Linked DNA regions of Homo sapiens: region 1 is linked to region 2. Evidence: promoter capture Hi-C in 16 types of primary human blood cells and fetal thymus (Javierre and others, 2016). All regions are on one chromosome and are shown on one strand. The core of a region is centred on a gene start or on the middle of the fragment in contact, and the rest is flanking DNA. Distances in the headings are between cores, read along the strand shown. Region 1 overlaps EVA1A (eva-1 homolog A, regulator of programmed cell death). Region 2 holds the start of TACR1 (tachykinin receptor 1).

Region 1 (3,831 bases), core at 199-2,698, 350 kb after region 2:
AAATCCAGCCCACTGCCTGTTTTTGTTTATAAAGTTTTACTATCACATAGCCACACTCACTCACTCATTTGCATATTGTCTGTGGCTCCTTTTGCACCATAGTGGCAGAGCTGAATAGCTATGACAGACTGTAGGTCCACAAAGCTTAGAATACTTACTATCTGATCCTTTACAGAAAAAGTCTGCCAGGCCCTGGGTAAGTTGCCATTCCCTTCAGTGACTTGCCTCTCATAAAAAACCTACATTGAGTAGTTGGCCCTTGCCTGTCTTTCCTAGCTCATTTCTCTTTTATTTATTTATTTTTGAGACAGGGTCTCATTCTGTCACTCAGGCTATAATGCAGAAGCGTGATCTTGGCTCACTGCCAGCTCCACTTCCTGTGCTCAAGGGATTCTCCCACTTCAGCCTCCCAAACAGCTAGAATTACAGGCTCACATCACCATGCCTGGCTAATATTTTTGTATTTTTGGTAGAGATGAGGTTTTGCCATGTTGGCCTGGCTGGTGCTGAACTCCTGGGCTCAAGCAATCTGCCTGCCTTGACCTCCCACAGTGCTGAGATTATAGGTGTGAGCCACCCTGCCTGGCCTCCTTGCTCATTTCTTGCCACTCCCCTATGTCCCACTCTTGCTGATTAAGAGTCCCCCCAAACACCACGTGTTGCCTCCACCTGTAACATCTCTACTCCCTTTCCACATGAAAAAATTTCACATATTCTTTAAGATTATGTTTAAATGTCCCTTCCCTCCGAAGCTTTTCAGCCCTATTCAAGGGTCAGGCACTCCTTCCTTAGAGTTCCCTTAGCACCCTGTGACATCCCTTCAATAGACAGCATGTTGTAAAGAATGAATATGCGCCTACAGATCTTTCTCCTTTACTGGACACCCCCAACCTAAACCTCTCTCATTCCCTCCTAGAGCACCCTGTTCTTGTCCAGGATAGCAGTTACCAGTTTATAATCATCATGTATTTTATCTGTGTATTTACTTCTTGAATGCCCATCCCGTAATAACTGTGAGCCCCCAGAAGGCAGGAACTAAGACTGTCAGAATCACCATCACTTTACCATCATCTAGCCTTGAGCCAGCCACATAGTTGTTCAAATTATTAAATGAACTGATGACTGGCTAAATGAAAAATATATATATATATATATATATATATTTTTTTTTTTTTTACTAATAAATCAAATACAAATGAAAGAGAATCTAAGGTATCACAGCTGTTGCTTTATGGGCACACAGTGTACTGCCTCCCAAACCCTTTTGCACCCTGCCACAATCCAGAAGGTTGGATGGGCAGAAGCACCAGTGATAGCTTAGATGTGGATATCTGACACATGTATACAGCCCTGTGCACTCATTTGTGGGAATCAGTGTGGAACATGTACATAGGACTTTTTCATGACAGAAAATTCAGACCCTGTGGAATAGGAATAAAGCCAAGTATGGGATTATGTAACTTCACCGAACCACATTTGTGCGGAGCCACACAGCATCCCAGCCACACCTTCCTGGGGAAGCACTTCCACCACTCTTTGTCTACTGAGGAAAAGTGGGGCAAAACACCTGCAGCTTCTTCCCTCTGATGGAAGAAAGAGTCCCTAAGGAGAGTGCCCTGTCTGTCCATCACACCCACACCCAGCCAAAGGGACTCTGCACATGCCCACATCCAGGTGAGAGACCTGGCTGGGAGGAGAGTGGGGAGGGGTCCGGCAGGGATGATCCTTCCTTGCCTCCTACAGTGTCCTCCAGTACCTTCAAGCTGTCCTCCAGGGAACCTTCAAGCTGGAAATGTGACTCTTGAATGATGTACTGTTTACTTTTCCTGATACCTGAAGGCTCAAGATCAAACAAATAATTCAGCTGAGCTGCTGCTTTGTGTGGGGAAAGAAAAATACCCCAAGGCCATTTCCCGTGTGGCCTTTTGGATTCAGGATGGTGCCCTTTGGGAGAGCCCTTTCCATAAAGGCCCTCTGTGAAGGTGTGTGCATTTCACTGAGATGTTTCCAAGAAGAGCAAAGATGCCATTTCAACCAAAGCAAATATTTGAAGTTGGCAGCCAAATTCTAATTCCAGCCCTGAGCCTCAGGGATGTCAGCATCATGAACATGAACCAAGGCAAAGCTGAATTTCTTGTTTAAGTCAAGCTTTTAACCCTCTATGGTATCTGCCTCTGGTCTGAACAAAAGAATCTTAAGTATGAAAACAGAGATTGTCTTTGCCCCTAGATAAAAACATCTTCTGGGATGGCTTCTGGGAGGCTCTGGGATGCAGTCTCTAAACCTGGTAACAAAGAATTCACAGGAAATGCCCCTATTTTTCCATTATTAAGAACTTTAAATGGCAGTGGTCAAATCCTCTAGGGTCATTCCAAGCAGAGGGTTGTCACTCCAGCAAATCTTATAATGGACCTTTCATTTCCTACAAGGTCTAAACAACTCTCTGTCTCCTCTCATATATTTGCCTTCATCCCCAACTACCTTTCCCTTTGCTCAGAGAAGCAGGTGTCTCTTCTCCAGTCCAAAGCTGGTGTCTCCTCCCCATAACCCCACTATGGTCTAGGTCCTCTTCCTTCCTCCTGAAACCTTGGTGCTGTTGCCATCCTTACCTCCAAGTATCTACACAGCAGATGCCAATTCCCCATGCCTGAAGTGGAGCTTCAGTACATCATGCTCTATTGAGGAATACTTTGAAGGCAAATTGAGTGGGTGATATACTGAACGCACCTGAATTTGACATGGTCTGGACTTAACAACAAGTGATAAGTCACCACTGGGCATTGTGAAAGACATTTTCTCTGCTCCATCTAATAAAAGCTGAAGACCTGAAACACCTGTCCAGAATTTCTTTAATGATATCCAACTATCAACATGGAAGCCATCCAGAATATGAAGAGAAATATTAGAAATCTGTGTGGAAAAGAGAAGCAAACATGGAGACACCTCTCCCAGCGTGCATAGTCCATTTGTGACCACTCTATAATATGTGCTGGTCGGGCAGGCACGGTGGCTCACGCCTGTAATCCCAGCACTTTGGGAGGCCAAGGAGGGCAGATCACGAAGTCAGGAGTTCGAGACCAGCCTGGCCAGCATGGTGAAATGCTGTCTTTACTAAAAATACAAAAAATTAGCCAGGCATAGTAGTGTGTGTCTGTAATCCCAGCTACTTGGGATGCTGAGGCAGGAGAGTCACTTGAACCCAGGAGGCAGAGGTTGCAGTGAGCCAAGATCGCACCACACATTCCAGCCTGGGCGACAGAGCAAGACTCTGCTCAAAAACAAAACAAAACAAAACAAAAAAAACCAAAAAAAACGTGCTGGTCTTTTCCATCTTTAAAACACTGTCTCTACCTAATACCTCTAGCTGCTGTCTTTTCTTGCATGTTACTTTCATAGACAAGCCTCTAAAAACAATTGCTAAAGTTTGGTATGTCCACTTCCTCACCTCACATTTGTTCATTAGCTCCCCTCATCTGTTAGACTCCCCTCATCTGTTAGACTCCTCTCACCAAGTCGTCAATAGCTTTGGAATTTCCAAATCCGTGAACATTTCAGATCTCTCATTCTTCCATATCATTTGAAGCTGTTGATCCCCCTCTCCTGGAAACTCTCCTCTTCCGCATCCCAGTCTCCCATTTCCTCCTGCCTTTCTGCACATCCCCTTCCCTGTTGACTTCACTGGGTTCTCTCCTTCCTTCCCTGAGGTCAGTGTTGTGCCCTAGTACTGCCACTCTCGGAAGCAATCTGGCACATGCCTGGCATCCTGATAGCTGACTTAAAATCCTAGGTCCATGACTTATAGCTGTGTGACCTTGGGCAAATTACTTACCA
Region 2 (4,348 bases), core at 1,317-3,816:
CGACTTTTTTAAGTTTAAGGAAGCTGTTATGAGATTAAAGGAGCATGTCAATGCAGAAAGATTTACAGGTGTACCTCACTTTCAGCAAACTGAATATCTGAAAACCAGTGTAGTACAAAAGATAAATTTGCAAAATAATTCATTTCACTCCCACTTTGAGTAATTGGTTTACCATCTACATTTAAAATACAAACTGATTTTCCACAATTTGTTTTACATAAAACATAGTAAGCACATAGGAGCTGCATATAGAGAGATGTACAGGGAACTAACAAATCAGTATTTGGACACCACTGCAAAGGATGGAAATGAAGATTTCCCTGATTTTAAAAGTGTTCATTGACTACAGGAGCTAAAAAAGACTTCTAATAATTTGCAAGTTATAAACAATCTTTATGCAAAGAGGGTTAGTAGTTTGGAATTTTTTTTGAAGTTTTCTCCTAGCTCCTTCTTTGGGTTTCTCACATTCAGTTATCTCAGGAAGGACATCAAAAGACTCCATTTTAAAATCACAGTGGTAGGTGTTTTAAGCATACTTTCACATCCCAGGTAAACATTTAACACCTGTGCACACATAGACATACACATTGGAGACCTAAGATACTCACAAAGGAGACAATACCAACAGAGCTGTGCTCCAATAATCAATTTTCCATCATGCTACCTGAAGAGCCATTCATTCCAGAATACCATCCCCAGTGTTTGAAATGCCAACCTTTTCACTTTCAGTCAGCTTTGGGAACCCTAACCTGTTGGTTGCCGGAACAGAAGAGCTCTCAAATGCCTTTGCCAAGCATGTTTCTCTGTGGATAGAGACAGGCTAAATACATACATTTTACATTGCAGGAGAAATTTAGAACACCTCTTGGGTAAGCTTCCTGGATCCCTATCCGTGGAGTTTCTTAAGGATAGCATAACTGTCTCTCATTCCTGAATGAGAATTCCTAGCATTACAGAGTAAACTGCATTAGAATTCTGAGTATCTTATGATACTGATGAAATGCTCTTTCACATCCAAAACAAACAAACAAACAAACACAAACCAACGAACCAACCAACCAAACAACAACAACAACTACAACAACAAACTGGAGAGTTGCAGTGGGAGCAGAAAGTCCCAGAATCCTCTAGGTGTACTTAAAACAGGAAGGCAACAAGAGGCTGTCTGACAGAAAAACAGGCCTGGAGGAATTTACAAAGCCCCTTCCAGGGTCTAGTCCTTTGACCAAACCCTAGGTATTGTTTGCAGCCTGCAAGGGTAAAGGGGAGAAGGAATATATGGAAAGGAGCAAAGCAGAAGTTGAAAGTGTCAGGAAGATGAGTGGAGAAGAGATGAAGAAAGGGGAGTTAAATGAAGAAAAGGGGGATGTGTGTTGAAAGGAAGAGAGAGAGTGATGGGTAAAAAAGAGGAAAAAAAGTTGAAATACATAAGATGAAGTTCCCCATCAACAAATGACTCAGTTGATCAGTAAAAAAACCCTCAGAGTGGCCAATCTTCCACTTGACCCATACCCCACCCAGTTCCAAACCTCACAGCAATGCCGTGGTCCTCTATGAGCACTTTCTCGCCTTTTCACAAAGGCTAATCTCACCTATCAAAGGCCACAGCCGTCATGGAGTAGATACTGGCGAAGACAGCGGCGATGGGAAAGAAGTTGTGGAACTTGCAGTAGAACAGGCCGTAGTACCATTCGTTGTGGACAGCATAGGTGAAGTTCACCACTGTATTGAATGCAGCCATGGAGGCCTCCGCGAAGGCCAGGTTCACCAGAAAATAGTTCGTCACTGTCCTCATTCTTTTGTGGGCTAAGATGATCCACATCACTACCACGTTGCCCACCACAGAGGTCACCACAATGACCGTGTAGGCAGCTGCCCAAAGGACAATTTGCCAGGCTGGTTGCACGAACTGATTGGGTTCCGAGGTGTTAGTGGAGATGTTTGGGGAGAGGTCTGAGTCCACCGGGAGGACGTTATCCATTTCGAAGCTAGGCGGTAAAGCCCTACTATCTGTACACAACCCCCCTCTGCAGCAGAGTCCTGTGGCTGGCGCCTGGGGCTCAGGGTCCTTCTAAAGCCAGACAGGAGGGTGGAAGGCTTTTTCTGGGCAGCACTCTTTTTGAAAGCTGAACTGGCGCTCAGAATATAAACGCTTCTGGATGCACTGCCCGCCTGCCCGCGGTGGCTCTGAATTCCTCCACTTTCAAGCTTCAGGAGACGTTTGAGTTCAGAAGTCTGGAGACAGCATCTCTCTTGCGGTAAACTGAAAAAGGGAAAGAAATTCCACCGGTCACAGTTCTAGGAAGCAAGAGATCCCCCGCATTTATGCACCTGCTGCTGCCTGCAACTCCTATTTCTCCTTCCTCCGCAGGGAAAGGCAAAGCCCTGTGCTGCGTGAGGACTTAGGAGCGAAGTGGGGGCCCATTGCAGCGCGACCTGTAAAAGTTCTGAGCCTATGGCCAGGATTCTGGAGCTTCGTATCCAGCTGGAGATTTTTCCTTCTCTTTTGCTGCCGCTGCCGCCGCCTGCAGTTTCGCGGGCACCTCTCGGTTCGGGTTGCTCAGCTCGCGAGTTAGCTGCGCACGAGGCTTTTATAACCCCCTGCAGAGACGTCACTGGGAAGGGGCAGTACCTGGGCTGCGTACTCGCCAGTCCCGGTGCGCAGCGCGGCAGCTGCGCCAGCTGTTGACAACTGTCTCATTCCACCGCCGCAGCTACCACGCCTTTTGCTGCTTGCTACTTGCCGTGGGAGTCTGCGAGCCGGGAGCCCCACGCACTCCGCGAGGGGGCAGTAGGTGGCTTGGAAGTAACTGACACAGATGCGGTCCGCAGCTGGAATCGTCGTTGCACGAGGGGTGCTGGGAGGAAGGAAGGATTTGGGAAACAGCTGGAGTGGAGGACAATCAACTTCCAGGGAATGAAGCCCAGAGCCCTGAGACAGCTCTGCAGAGGCGGCTTGCCTGTGGCAATGGGAAACGGTCATGTGTGGGGGCGATGTGCCAGCGCCGCGCTCCGGGCCGCGCTCCAGCTACCGAGAAGCCAGAGGCGACGACTCCCTGGTCCAGGTGTCCCGAAAACAACTTTCCTGAGGCTGTGTTTAGGAAACACCCCCACAAAATATCTAGCTCAGTTACCTGGCTAGCTGATTCACCTGGGAAGTGACAGTCTCTAAGCTTTGAGGACACTTTCCTCAGCCACCCTGGTGACTTGGCCCCTCGTTCCAGGAGAAGCTCCATTTGAGCCCTCCACCTGACCCCTCTGGATGAGCCTCTGCTCAATCACTGGGGACAGGGCTGAGCTCCCTGCGAATCTTGGTGAGCGCAGGAGCCACACTCATAGGCAGCTTGTCGCTCAGACGCGCGGCTCTGGGCTCTCCGCCAGCAATCACTGCGGCGCTGCGTTTGCCTCCCGGGGACCTGGCAGCCTCCGCCTCCGCGCCTGCCAAGCCTGCAGGCCAGAGCCGGGCTCGGGGTGGCATCGGTGGTCCTTCTCCCTGTTCCCCTTCCAGGTTTGCATAGGGGCTGGAGGACAGGTCAGCCAGCCTTCTCTGCCCGCCTCCATCCTGCCCTGCCGTCTTCTGACTTTGAGGCCTCGTATCCCAGTCCAAGACCATTTCAAACGGTAGAACTGGTGCCAGACACTTGGAGGAGGCAGGGCAAAGACTCGCCAGTCCGTATAAACCCTTTTGGAGAAGCCAAGATGGGATGAGCTCCGCAGCACGTTCCCGCCAGACTGCTGCAGGCAGAGTTCCGCGGAAAACTGAACCCCGGGAGTCCTCAGGGGCCCATCTACCCCGGTGCACCGCCCCCTCCTTTCACTGCGGGGACTCGGAGCTGTGGGACTGGAGCGCGCACCGGCAGACTTGCGCGCAGGTTGGAGTTGGCGCACACCCGCGCCAGCCGGGGAGCGGCGTTTACGCACTGGTACCGCGAGCGCTCAAAGCATCTCTCGGGAAGTGCTTTAAGGCTGGGAAATTTACTATACACTTATGCCGGGCAAAAATTGGATCCCACGCCGGGGAGGAGAATCTGCTGTTTCACTCTGTATTTTTTCGGAGCCTGGGATTTTAGCGTATATAGGAACCGCACATTGCTTTGCCAGGTTCTCCTAGGCACCCGTAAACACACTGCATAGAAAACTCTAGAGATGCTTTCAAGAGAACAGCGTCCCTTTATTTAGAGCGGCTGCACAAGAGGTCTTCTTTGTGGAAGGGAATGCCTCCTCCACCTTGGATCTCTGCTTGAGGCTTCCACCATCTCAAAGAGCTGACAGAGAGAGGGAGGAAAAGGGAGAGGGAAGGGGATGCGGAGGGTGGGGGAGGGGGGAGGGGAAACTTCTCTATCTTTAA

Evidence for each region. Contacts are between HindIII fragments. The CHiCAGO score rates a contact against its expected background, and 5 or more counts as called.
Region 1: a contact is called between a fragment that was not itself captured here and the fragment with the promoter of TACR1 in region 2, in 2 of 17 cell types (megakaryocytes and erythroblasts). The highest score is 5.9, in megakaryocytes.

Annotation. Positions count from the first base shown.
Region 1 is chr2:75,547,847-75,551,677 of GRCh38, forward strand. The region is part of intron 1 of EVA1A (eva-1 homolog A, regulator of programmed cell death); the gene reads right to left. Among named protein-coding and RNA genes, the nearest start is that of EVA1A, 11 kb to the right of the region's middle. The HindIII fragment of the contact is 1,396 bases long and covers 751-2,146 here.
Region 2 is chr2:75,196,954-75,201,301 of GRCh38, forward strand. It overlaps TACR1 (tachykinin receptor 1), which reads right to left and starts at 2,567. Exons shown (of 5, transcript NM_001058.4): 1 at 1,593-2,567. The coding sequence starts at 1,981. The region is part of intron 2 of TACR1-AS1 (TACR1 antisense RNA 1); the gene reads left to right. The HindIII fragment of the contact is 965 bases long and covers 2,207-3,171 here.